3 separate regions of the Homo sapiens genome follow, and regions 1 and 2 are each linked to region 3. The links are contacts of gene promoters, found by promoter capture Hi-C in human tissues and cell types (Jung and others, 2019). All regions are on one chromosome and are shown on one strand. Each heading gives the region's core, a stretch centred on a gene start or on the middle of the fragment in contact. The rest is flanking DNA. Distances are from core to core; before and after follow the strand shown.

Region 1 (3,684 bases), core at 753-3,252, 150 kb after region 3:
GTGGAAACTAGAAAGGTATGCAGAGTACTGACAATAGCTTTCCTTCACCTTTAGGGCATTATGCCAAGCACTATGAATTCTGGCTTGCAATTCCAAGACCTTGTGGGACACAATGTACAAGATGCAACAACGTTCAGATCTTAACCAAGAGAACTGCCAGGAAAACTGCTTTTTTAACCTTAGCACTTAGGGCTGGTGAGGGGATCCAGGACTATGACAGCAGCAATGTTCAGTTCTTAACCAAGAAAACTGCCAGGAAAACTACTTTTTTAACCACAGCACTTAGTGCTGGGAGGGGATCAGGGACTGTGACAGCAGTGCAAGGGTGTCTTCCCTGATATTTCACAACCACAAGCTGATCTTCCCCTAGATTATGGTTTTAAAACCTTCATACCGGCTGGGCGCAGTGGCTCATACCTGTAATCCCAGCACTTTGGGAGGCCGAGGCGGCCGGATCACCTGAGGTCAGAAGTTTGAGACCAGCCTGACCAATATGATGAAACCCCATCTCTACTGAAAATACAAAAAATTTAGCCGGGCATGGTGGCATGTGCCTGTAATCCCAGCTACTTGGGAGGCTGAGACAGGAGAATCGCTTGAACCTGGGAGGCAGAGGTTGCAGTGAGCCAAGATCACACCACTGCACTCCAGCCTAGGCAATAAGAGCAAAATTCCGTCTCAAAAAAAAAAAAAAAGCTTCATACCTAGAATTGTGTTTAGGGTAGCCCTAGGATGGTTGTATCCCCCACCCAATCTTGACAGAAGCAAATGTACGTTCTCTCTGGAGGAAATCACCTTTGACCTAAGCCTGGAAAAATTCCCACAGGTAAGATCTCAAAATAAATGTATTCATAACTAAAAATCACAAAACCCAGAAGGAAATCAGCCACTCACAGCAAAATACAGCAGAAACATCAGTTAGCACAATAAACCACAAGGAATGCAGATATAGAAGTTACTAGACATCCTTGGGACCAGGGTCCAGTGTGGACTGCCCCTCGTCCTGGGAAATGGGGTGTGGCTAAAAAGGCAGCCGTCCCCTTGCCTGTCACGGAACACACTTTCGTGGGGAACCTGGCGCTAAACCACTCACAGACAACCTGCCTCTGGGTCATGGTTTCGTACACAGCAGAGCAGCTTTCTTTATTTAAAAGAAAAAAAATTACTAGACATACTTCTTTACTGTTTTATGTGTGATTTACCTAGTCTTGTATTTTAATTGCCTGAAGGTAGATAGATCTCAAATCTTCATCTCTAGCAGAGATCAATCTCCTAATCTCCAAACAAATATCTAACATTCCCTCCTGGAAATCCCAAATTTACCATGTTTAAAACTGAATTCATCATCTTCTCTTAATATACTTCCTTCCTGGATAAAATGGCACAGCCTTTTCATCTAAGAATGGCTTTCAGGTTTCTAGCTTAACTCTTACTCTTTGTTAGAGCAGACTAATTTTTTTTCCAACTCTTAGTCTCTATGAGGAATTACTTCAGTAAACACTCCTGGCCTCTTAGCCCATTCCTCTCCAAAGAGGTAAACTGGTTAGTACATAGAGCTAACTTAACAAAAGAACTGAGTACCAGGGACTCAGAATCTTTTTATTTTTCTGAGACGGAGTTTTCACTCTTGCTGCCCAGGCTGGAGGGCAATGGCGCCAACTCGGCTCACTGCAACCTCTGCCTCCTGGGTTCAACCAATTCTCCTGTCTCAGCCTCTCAAGTAGATAGGATTACAGGCATGCACCACCATGTCTGGCTACTTTTCTGTATTTAGTAGAGGGGGTTTCACCATGTTGGTCAGGCTGGTCTTGAACTGCTGACCTCAGGTGATCCACCTGCCTCGGTTAGGATCCCAAAGTGCTGGGATTACAGGCGTGAGGCACCACGCCCAGCCCTCAGTCTCTTTCTTTTCACTCTCCATCCAGGATTCTACAAGGCAATGATCTGAGTGTGTCTGCTCTGCTGACCCAAACATCCTCTAGGGTGCACTGTCCCACTGACAGATGGGCATGAGGGGCTGCAGAAAGTCAGCCAACTCATTTGGCTCTTAAACCTAAGTCACGTTCTACAATATAGGTTTTATCAAAAACAAAGGCAACTCCTTTGAAAGTTAAACACAGAGTTACCATAAAACCCAGCAATTATAAGCATATACATCTCCAAGAGAATTTAAATGTTCCTACAAAAACATGCACACAAATGATCATTTGCACACAAATGTGCAGCACTACTCATAAAGCCAGTAAGTGAAAATAACCCAAATGTTTGTCAACTAATGAACAGATAAACAAAGTATGGTTTATCTAAGTAACAGCCATAAAATATACAATGCAACTTTATTCAGCCATAAAAAGGAATGAAGTACTTTTACATGCTACCACATAAATGAACCTTGAAAGCCTCATGCTAAGTGAAAACGACACAAAAGACCACATGCTGTATGATTCCATTTATACGAAATGTCCAGAACTGGCAAATCTATAGAAATGAAAAGTAGATTGGTGGTTGCCAGGAGATGGGGGAAGAGAGGAAGATTGCAGATGGGAAGTGACTGCTAGGAGGTTTCTTTTTAGAGTGATGAAAATGGCCTAATTGATAGTGGTAATGGTTGCACAACTTTGTGAATACATTAAAAACTACTGAATTGTACACTTTAAAATGGTGAACTTCACAGTATGTGATTTTTACCTGAATAAAAAGCTAATTTTTTTAAAGGTACTGTCTTGCTTCTTCATCTGTAGGTTCTTATTTCTCAATCAGCTCAAAACTCAGGCAAGGGAAAATGATCTCATACTAAACTGTCCAAACACCAACACCCTTAGTACCTCCAATAAGTTACCATTTACTATCAAATTCTAACTTCTAGTTATCTTTCCAATCTGCTCTAGCTTCAATGCTTTAGTTCCAGTGTTATTCATTTTTCCTCTAGATTACCGTCCTTAAATGACGTCCTGAACCCTAGCCTTGTTGACTGAAAGAACAAACATATATCAGTCTTCTCCCTACCCAGGCAACTGAACAGCAACAGGGAAATCTCACAAAAGAAGGCTAAGGTTCACATTGAAGTCAGGAAATTTCAAAGTCCTCCAAGTCACAAACAAATCTCTGTGGCATCAACTGTAGTTGAACAACTATATTAACTCATTCAGTTACATCCATAATTTATTTACATGGTTTTATTTGGTGCCTACAGCATAAATCTCCAAATCTTTTGAAAACTAATATGTATCAAGAAAGAGTAGAATGACACAACCAGAATGAGTACTAAAAGCCAGGCATTAGCTAATGAGTATGCTGCAATACAAGCTATTTACTGTATTATATTCCATTACCAACAGAAAAGCATGGAATTTCTTTTAACATAAGCAGTATTCAAGTGTACATTAAACTGAGTTACAAACTATCCACATTTAGGAAGCAGCCATCGCAACACACTAACAGTTGTATAATAACATATTATCTGGGGGCATGGAGTGAAATAGAACTAAGTATTTTGAAAAAGCTCTGAATAAGTTCGTTTTGTTTTTAAGAGACAGAGTCTTGCTTTGTTGCCCAGGCTGGAGTACAGTGGCCAGATGATAGCTCACTGCAGCCTCGAACTTCTGAGCTCAAGCAAACCTCTTGCTTCAGCCTTCCTAGTACCTGGGACCACAGGTGCACACCACTGCATTGGGCCTTTTTTTT
Region 2 (3,720 bases), core at 281-2,780, 230 kb after region 3:
CAACAAGACCCAGGTGCTCTACACAGAACATTAACAGCATTAATAACAACTGTGTGTTGTCTGTCTTCTTAAATTCCAGGGATATTGTTTGTTTTACTCACACCTGTCAACTCCCATGCCCAGCCCTTAAGAAGACAGTGCTTGTTCCTTCCCTGTCAGTCCCTTTGGCTTTTACCATTTGATTGCACCAGGGCCCGGCTTCTGACTACCAGCACCTGCACCTGTTAGAGGGCTTTGTCTGGTACAGGATCCCACGTTGCCCACACATGTATGGCAAGCCAGAAGGGTCAGGAAATTAACACCATGCCCCTGGAGCAGCCTTAACCAAAAACTGAGTTGATGTATAAACACTTGAAATTGGCTGGGCATAGTGGCTCATACCCTGAGAGGTAGACATTATGAGTTTATGAAATCCCAGCACTTTGGGAGGCTGAGGCAGACAGATCACCTGAGCTCAGAAGTTCGACACCAGCCTGGGCAATATGGTGAAAACCCGTCTCTACAAAAAATACAAAAATTAGCCAGGCATGGTGGCTCGTGCCTGTAGTCCCAGCTACTCAGGAAGCTGAGGCAGGAGAATCACTTGAGCCCGGGAGGCAGGGGTTGCAGTGAGCCGAGATCGCGCCATTGCACTCCAGCCTGGATGACAGAGCAAGACCCTGTCTCAAAACAAAAACTTGAAATTGTCAACTCCCTGGCCTCTCAGGTGGAATAACTGAAGTGCATGTACTAAGCCATTTCCTAGAGTTCCTCAGCAGGATTCAGCTCTGGTTGCTGAGAGGTGGTAACTCCCTTGATAAAGTATGTTTTGTTTGCCTCATTCCCTTCTCTATGCCCCTCCCAACATTTCCTGAAATTACTATCCAGAGAGACTACTTGCACTTAAATCCTGTCTGAGTGAGCTTCTACAGAAACCAAACTAACACTAGGCTTGGCCCAAAGTAGGTGCTAAATAAATATTCCCTGAATGAATATGTGAAACAATCAATGTGTTTCAGGAGTGAAAAAAATGCATATTTAAGTTGTGTATCTTTCTCTGTGAGGAGACTATAATCTCCTGGTAGGCAGAGACCATCTAGTTCAACTTTGTATTCCTGCTTAGTAGTGTGTCTGAGTCATACCAACCAGTTCAATAAGTGTTGAATTGAATTAAATCACCTCAAAATCACAGTTGGTGGAAAGAGAAAATGGCCACATAAATGTCTGTGGGTTTTAGTGAGGTGGAGGTGAGCTTTCTTTGGGCATTGTCACAAAGAACTTTAAAAGGGAAGGAGAGGGGTGTGGCATCTACTTGTTAAAAATAAAAATAACTGTTTTACGAGAAAATGCTGTGGGTGGAGTAGGAAGAAATAAGGGGAAAGGTGGAAACTGATGGAGGTGTGCCAAGTCATGTTTGGATGACACATCTTCCTCACAACACAAGATAATCTGAAGTGCTAAGTGGATTATCCACTTTTATTTTTTTATTTATTTTTGAGACAAAGTCTCACTCTTGTCCCCCAGGGCTGGAGTGCAATGGCGGGATCTCGGCTCACTGCAACCTCTGCCTCCCGGGTTCAAGCAATTCTCCTGCCTCAGCCTCCTGAGTAGCTGGGATTACAGGCGCCTGCCACCACGCCCAACTAATTTTTGTATTTTAGGCAGAGACAGGGTTTCATCATGTTGGCCAGCCTGGTCTCGATCTCCTGACCTCAGGTGATCTGCCTGCCTCGGCCTTCCGAAGTGCTGGGATTACAGGCGTGAGCCAGTATGCCTGGCCTATTCACGTTATTTATATAGTTGATTCCTTTCTGGTAACTTTCAGAGTTTCACTGCCAGCCACTGTTACATGATCCTGCTCAAATATAATGGTTCTAAAAGCTACCATAAGTGAGGTCCTTGTTTGCTGTCATGCTTTAGTATCCTGCTGTTTTCTTAATTTTTCTGCTTGTTTTGTACATGAAGGTTTTTTCTGGCATACCAGACATCCGTTTGGTGTTGAAGCTTTCTTTAGTGAATCCAAGGATGCACATGTGTGCACACATATGTGAGTGACATGCATGCACAGGTTGGAGGGTGATGACTCATTATGTATCGGCTTTGTGTAAATGCAAAGACATTTATAGTCAAATCAATTCCAAGGATCTGTATTATAAGACACCTTTACTTTAAACGAGATAATGTGTGAAAGTTCTTAGCAAATAACCTAAAACGCAATAGAGGCTCAATAAAAATCTTGTCCGAATTCAAATCTGAACTACAAGACCTTTTATTATCCATGCCTCTGCTTCCCTCTGTTGTTATGATGATTGAGAATGGTTAAGTTTTAGAACTCTGCTTTCCAATAAAGATTTATTTCTGAAGCTATTTCTCTTTATCATAAAGTGTATTTCTTCGCTATTGCACATACAAATGCGTAAGTCCAGTTATGAAGATTTTTTTTTTTTTTGAGACGGAGTTTCGCTCTTGTTGCCCAGGCTGGAGTGCAATGACGCGATCTCAGCTCACTGCAGCCTCTGCCTCCTGGGTTCAAGTGATTCTTCTGCCTCAGCCTCCCAAGTAGCTGGGATTACAGGCGTGCACACCACCACGCCCAGCTAATTTTTGTATTTTTAGTAGAGACGGGGTTTCATCATGTTGGCCAGACTGGTCTTAAACTCCTGACCTCAGGTGATCCACCCGCCTTGGCCTCCCAAGGTGCTGGGATTACAGGCGAGAGCCACTGTGCCCCGCCTAGTTATGTAGAATTTAACCCAGTATATGGGTTAGAAAAAACAGACTCTGTTCTTTGGGAAAAGTTATCCTGGTTTTCTATCTTGTTTTTAATACATCAAAATATTTTCAAATATAAATAGAGAATTCAAAAGGAAATCAGAACACAATTACCCATAAAAGTAGATTATTCTTTTTTAGAACATAGAGAAAATATTGTTTTGGTTTCAAAAAATTGGTTTTAACTGGGTTGGCAGTTGGTCACTGTCCTAACTTGTTTGAGGTTTGATCTTTTTTCCACTAATATTTCATTGACCTATTTGGGGACAGAGTGGTTGTTTTAGTTTTTTTTTTTTTTTTAAGTGGTTTGAGGCTAAACATAATCTCAAGCCCACCCCATGAGTCTGGGAGACCCCAAAATATTCCAGAAACAATTCAGCTGCCTCTCCCTCTCCCCAAGTTAGGGTGATACCCAAGAGCACTAGGGTACTTAATCACATGAAATCTCTTCTTGGAGGGCATGAGCCTCTGATTGTTGAGGGCTTTCCTTCTGTTGACTAGCAACCAAGCAGAGCCCTGTCCTTCCTGATATCCTGCATCAGCTCTTCGTTCCCTTGACTTGAGGTCCGTAGATTGCAGTGGAAATGTTAACGATCCTGGGAGAGGTGATACATTAAGCTCCATCCTGTATTAAGTTTATTAGGTCCTTTCCTGAGAGGAGATTACTTAAGTGGTTAAAGGTCTCAAAATTTACAGACCTTTTGCCGAGGGCCAGCCTTAAACCCAAATTGTCCTTGGCCATGGCTGTGTATAACTGTTGCTCCCACTGAAGCCACATGAGCAGCTGCTTCTTGTCTACTACTATTAGAAATATGATGGCAGTGGCAATGGGAAAGAGCAGGAGGCATGTGAAGTTGCCCATGGCAAGAATGTCAGAGCTAGCGCTGGGGGCGGTGGCTCACGCCTGTAATCCCAGCACTTTGGGAGGCTGAGGCGGGCGGATCACCTGAGGTCAAGAGACCAGCCTGG
Region 3 (3,723 bases), core at 597-3,096:
AGCCCCCCTAGCATCCGGTACAGGCAGCGTAGGCACAGATTTCACATGTGCCCGGGTCCTCAGCGATTTCCTCTGCACAACAGAGATGGAGCCTCGTGAGAACCAGCATTTCCTCGCGAGGCCCCTGCCGCCCTTGGCCCAGAGCTTGTACGTCACCACCCAGCCCCAGGAGAATCTCAGCAGGCCCGTACTCTGACCTACTGGGCTTTTCGCCCCAAACCAGGGCACACAGACCACTCAAACCAACCAATCAAAGCAGAGATTCCACCAGAAAGAGAGGAAACTAAGACCAGATGAATGGTCTTAGTTCCCAAACCTCAGCAGTTACAACTTGGAATTGAAGTGGGCATGGAACAGACCCACCAATCAGAGCCAAGCTCCCTAGTTCCACCAGTCAGAGCTGAGCCCTTCCTCCAAATCCCACCAATCAGAGCACATCTCTTCCTCAAGTGCCACCACAGTATTCCCGAACCCCACCAATCAGAGAGGAAGGAGGCTGCTCACCCAGCCTCTGAAGTATCTCCTGGGCATTGGGCTCCTTGCAGAGAGGCTTGAGTTCTTCTGGAAAGTTCGGGTTGCTACAGAGGATGGGAACCACAGGTTCACCAGGGATGGGTGCAAAGTTCCTGAGTTTCCCAACCCTGGGCTCCTGGGGCTCCTGGAGGTCTTTGAGCTTCTTCACTGACTCCAGAGAAAAGGAGAAATTTCCATCCTGGAAGAGAGAAGCCCAGAGCATGAGGCCAGGCTGCAGCCTGCTTCCTGGCTGTGCCCCCCGTGCTGGCCCCGGTCCAGCCCAGTGGTGCTCACAGGCAGTGTTCGTGGCATATGGGAGCCAGGCGATCCACAGTGGGGCACTGTGAGGGGCAGAGTTCAGGCCCCACGTCCTGGCTTGGCTCCGTGATGCTGGACACTCTGGAACCCGCAAATTCTGCATGTTGTATGGGGAATGGAGAAAATGGGTGTGAAGCTCCAGGAACACCATAGGTGCCTAATGAGTAGGAGCCAGTGTGCTGATTTTTAGGGAGAGGCAAAGGACCAGCACCCAGGCATCGTAGTTCCACGTGGCCAAGCCCAGGCTGTCTTTCCCCTGCCTGAGAGCGGTGCGGCTGATTACTGGGCCCCCAGCTCCAGCCTGCAGCCTGGTTTTGGTTTGAGAAGCAATAAAAGGCCTCCCGGAATCTGGCTTTGATAGAGATCAGGGCCCCCGCTAGGTGCCAGCTTGGCCTGTCGCCAGCATTGGCACTGGTAGGCATACCCATCTGTCAGGACCTCCAGGGTGTCCATGTGGTTCCTGGGACCCACTGAGGAGTAAGGTCTGGATTTAAATCCAGCTCCTGCACTTCCCACAGCCATGTGCCCATGGCCTGTTACAGAACCTTTGTGAGGCTCAGTTTTCCCCTCTGTAAAATGGGACTAATGATCCCTTTCTTCCAGGTTGATAGTGGAGCCACAGTGAGGGGCTGGGGAAGGAGCCGGCACATAGGACACTCAGTAAATTGGCCAACTCCCCGCCTTCCCCATATGGTTATTCCTCTTCCCTCCACTGGGTTTCTTTCTCCTCCAAAGTTGAAGGGAAAGGTGTGTGTGTGGCTGGACTGAGCAGGAGCTCCTCGAAGAAGGCCAAGCCTGGGACACACACCCTCAATCCAGCCCCAAAGAGGAGGTACTCTCTCAGGGGACCAGACCTGGGCACTAGGGGCAGGGAGCCAGCTGGGCCGGGGTAGGGACACAGGACTCACCTGCACGGTGACCCCTCCTGCCAAGGCGGCCCAGGCCCCAAGGAGGCACAGTGCGGAGAGCAGGAAGGCATTCATGGCAGCAGTGCCCGAGAGAGGGGTGGCTGTTCTGGATGCCAGGGGGAAGCGGCGGGACTTTTAAAGAGGGCAGGTTACTGAGTAACCTGGAAGCCTCTGTCAGTCTCATCTGCTCACCTGTCAGGCCTTATCAGATAAGGCTCGAGACAGCCCTAGGAGATAAGAGCCAGGCAGGGGGGGCCCCGGCCCCTCCCTGAGCACCTACTTTGACCCACAGCCGGGCTGGGTCCTGCATTCATTCACCAACAAGGCACATTCACTCACGACTGCCCTGTGCTGCTGTGTGGGGCCGGCAGACCCTGCCCTTGAGGAGGGGGGCCCAGCCCGACAGTGAAACGCAGGGCGATTAGGGTGGGGTGATCCTAGGATGAGGTGACGGGGCTGCACTGGGGGCTGAGCTCTGGAGAATGGGTGGAAGTTTTCCCAGAGAAGGGACTGAGGACAGAAGGCCATTTCATGCCAAAGGGACAGCCAGGAGGTGAGACGGGCCTGGAATATTCAGGGAAATGTGAGAAATTCCACGGGGGAGGCTGCAGGGCAAGTCAGGGTCTGGGTTTGATTGCCGCGACCTCAAGGAAGCCCTCCGCACAGCCTGGGTTCCGTTCCACCTACTGCCCAGTTGTGAGGCGTGTGAACTTGGGCCAATGCTTTCCCCTCTCTGAGTCTCGTTGTCCCTTGTGTCCCCTGTGGGAACCAAAAATAATACCTACCTCATGGGGTAGGTGTGTGGTAGGCATTACTGTTTGGAGAATCAAGTGAGGTTTTAAAAACATTTAGCTCAATGCCTGGCACACAGAAGGTGCTCAGCAGAGGTCCATTCCCATATTATTAGCAGCCACAGCAGCTCCTGGTCCTCCCTGGCCCCTCTGGTGACCTCCTGCCTGTCTGAGTCACAGGCTGTCCCCATCCTGTGCTGGTCCCCATCCTGTCCTGCCTGCCCTGCAGCCTCAGGGTGTCCTCGAATGAGCTCCTCCCCAATCCGCCCGCCCCCCTTGCCCCTGCAGATACAGTCCCCTTTCCGCGGATCTCACTGGGGAATTGCTTGGGTGTGCCCGCGCCCCTATAGACTCTGACCCCATTCAGACTGCGCCCTCAGGGCAGCGTGCATTCACTGTGTGCTGTTGTGAGCAGGAATCCCCAGGACACAGGAGAAAGGGTAGCCCTGGGATTGTCATCTTTCTACTCAGCCAACCTGGCCCGATGCCAGGACAGCCCTAGGGCGGGAGGTTGGGCAGGAATTCCTGGGTGGGGAGAGTCAACACTGAAGAGGGAATTGGAGAGAGCAGGGCCTGACCAGGAGGGAACTGCAGGGACAAGGCCCTCAGGGAGGGGCAGGTAGCTCCTGGCCCAGCTCCCAGGGCAGTCCTCACAGCTGCACTGGATTTCCCACCCCTTTCTGGTGAGTGTGTGTGTGTGTGTGTGTGTGTGTGTGTTAAGGGGGGGTGTGTCTGCGGAGATGTGTATGTCTGTGTATGCCAAGGTGTCTGTATATACCCTGATGGGTGTGTGTAGCCAAGGTGTGTTTGTATGTGTGCTTGTGCTGAAGGTGTGTGTGTGCTGAGGCATGTGTGTACACTGAGGAGTGTATGTGTATATATGCTGAGGTGTATGTGTGTGTATGCTGAGGGGTATATGTGTGTCCGTGTACACCAAGGTATCTGTGTCTGTGCAAGGAGGTGTGCATATATACATCGAGGTGTGTGTGTGTCAGTGTGTATATACACAGGCGCGTGTGTGTACACCGAGGTGTGTGTGTTTGCTGGGATGTGTGTCTGCTGGGGTGTCTGCTGGGGTGTGTGTATGTGCACTGAGGTATGTGTGTGTGTATGCTCATGTGTGTATATGCACTGAGATATGTGTGTGTATGTGCACTGAGGTGTGTGTGTGTATGCTGAGCTGAGTGCATCTG

The links. Contacts are between HindIII fragments. The study calls those that stand out against the background at their distance.
Region 1: a fragment that was not itself captured here is called in contact with the fragment with the promoter of GUCA2A in region 3 in 1 of the 25 tissues and cell types used here (dorsolateral prefrontal cortex).
Region 2: a fragment that was not itself captured here is called in contact with the fragment with the promoter of GUCA2A in region 3 in 3 of the 25 tissues and cell types used here (IMR-90 fibroblasts, bladder and dorsolateral prefrontal cortex).

What each region holds. Positions count from the first base shown.
Region 1 is chr1:42,312,658-42,316,341 of GRCh38, forward strand. All of the region lies in intron 1 of FOXJ3 (forkhead box J3), which reads right to left. Among named protein-coding and RNA genes, the nearest start is that of FOXJ3, 21 kb to the right of the region's middle. The HindIII fragment of the contact is 7,614 bases long and covers 1-3,684 here.
Region 2 is chr1:42,392,326-42,396,045 of GRCh38, forward strand. The region is part of intron 1 of RIMKLA (ribosomal modification protein rimK like family member A); the gene reads left to right. Among named protein-coding and RNA genes, the nearest start is that of RIMKLA, 13 kb to the left of the region's middle. The HindIII fragment of the contact is 7,595 bases long and covers 1-3,720 here.
Region 3 is chr1:42,162,899-42,166,621 of GRCh38, forward strand. GUCA2A (guanylate cyclase activator 2A) reads right to left here and starts at 1,847. Exons shown (of 3, transcript NM_033553.3): 1 at 1,740-1,847; 2 at 505-712; 3 at 1-72. The coding sequence starts at 1,814. The coding sequence ends at 8. RefSeq lists an enhancer at 1,707-2,671. The HindIII fragment of the contact is 10,088 bases long and covers 1-3,723 here.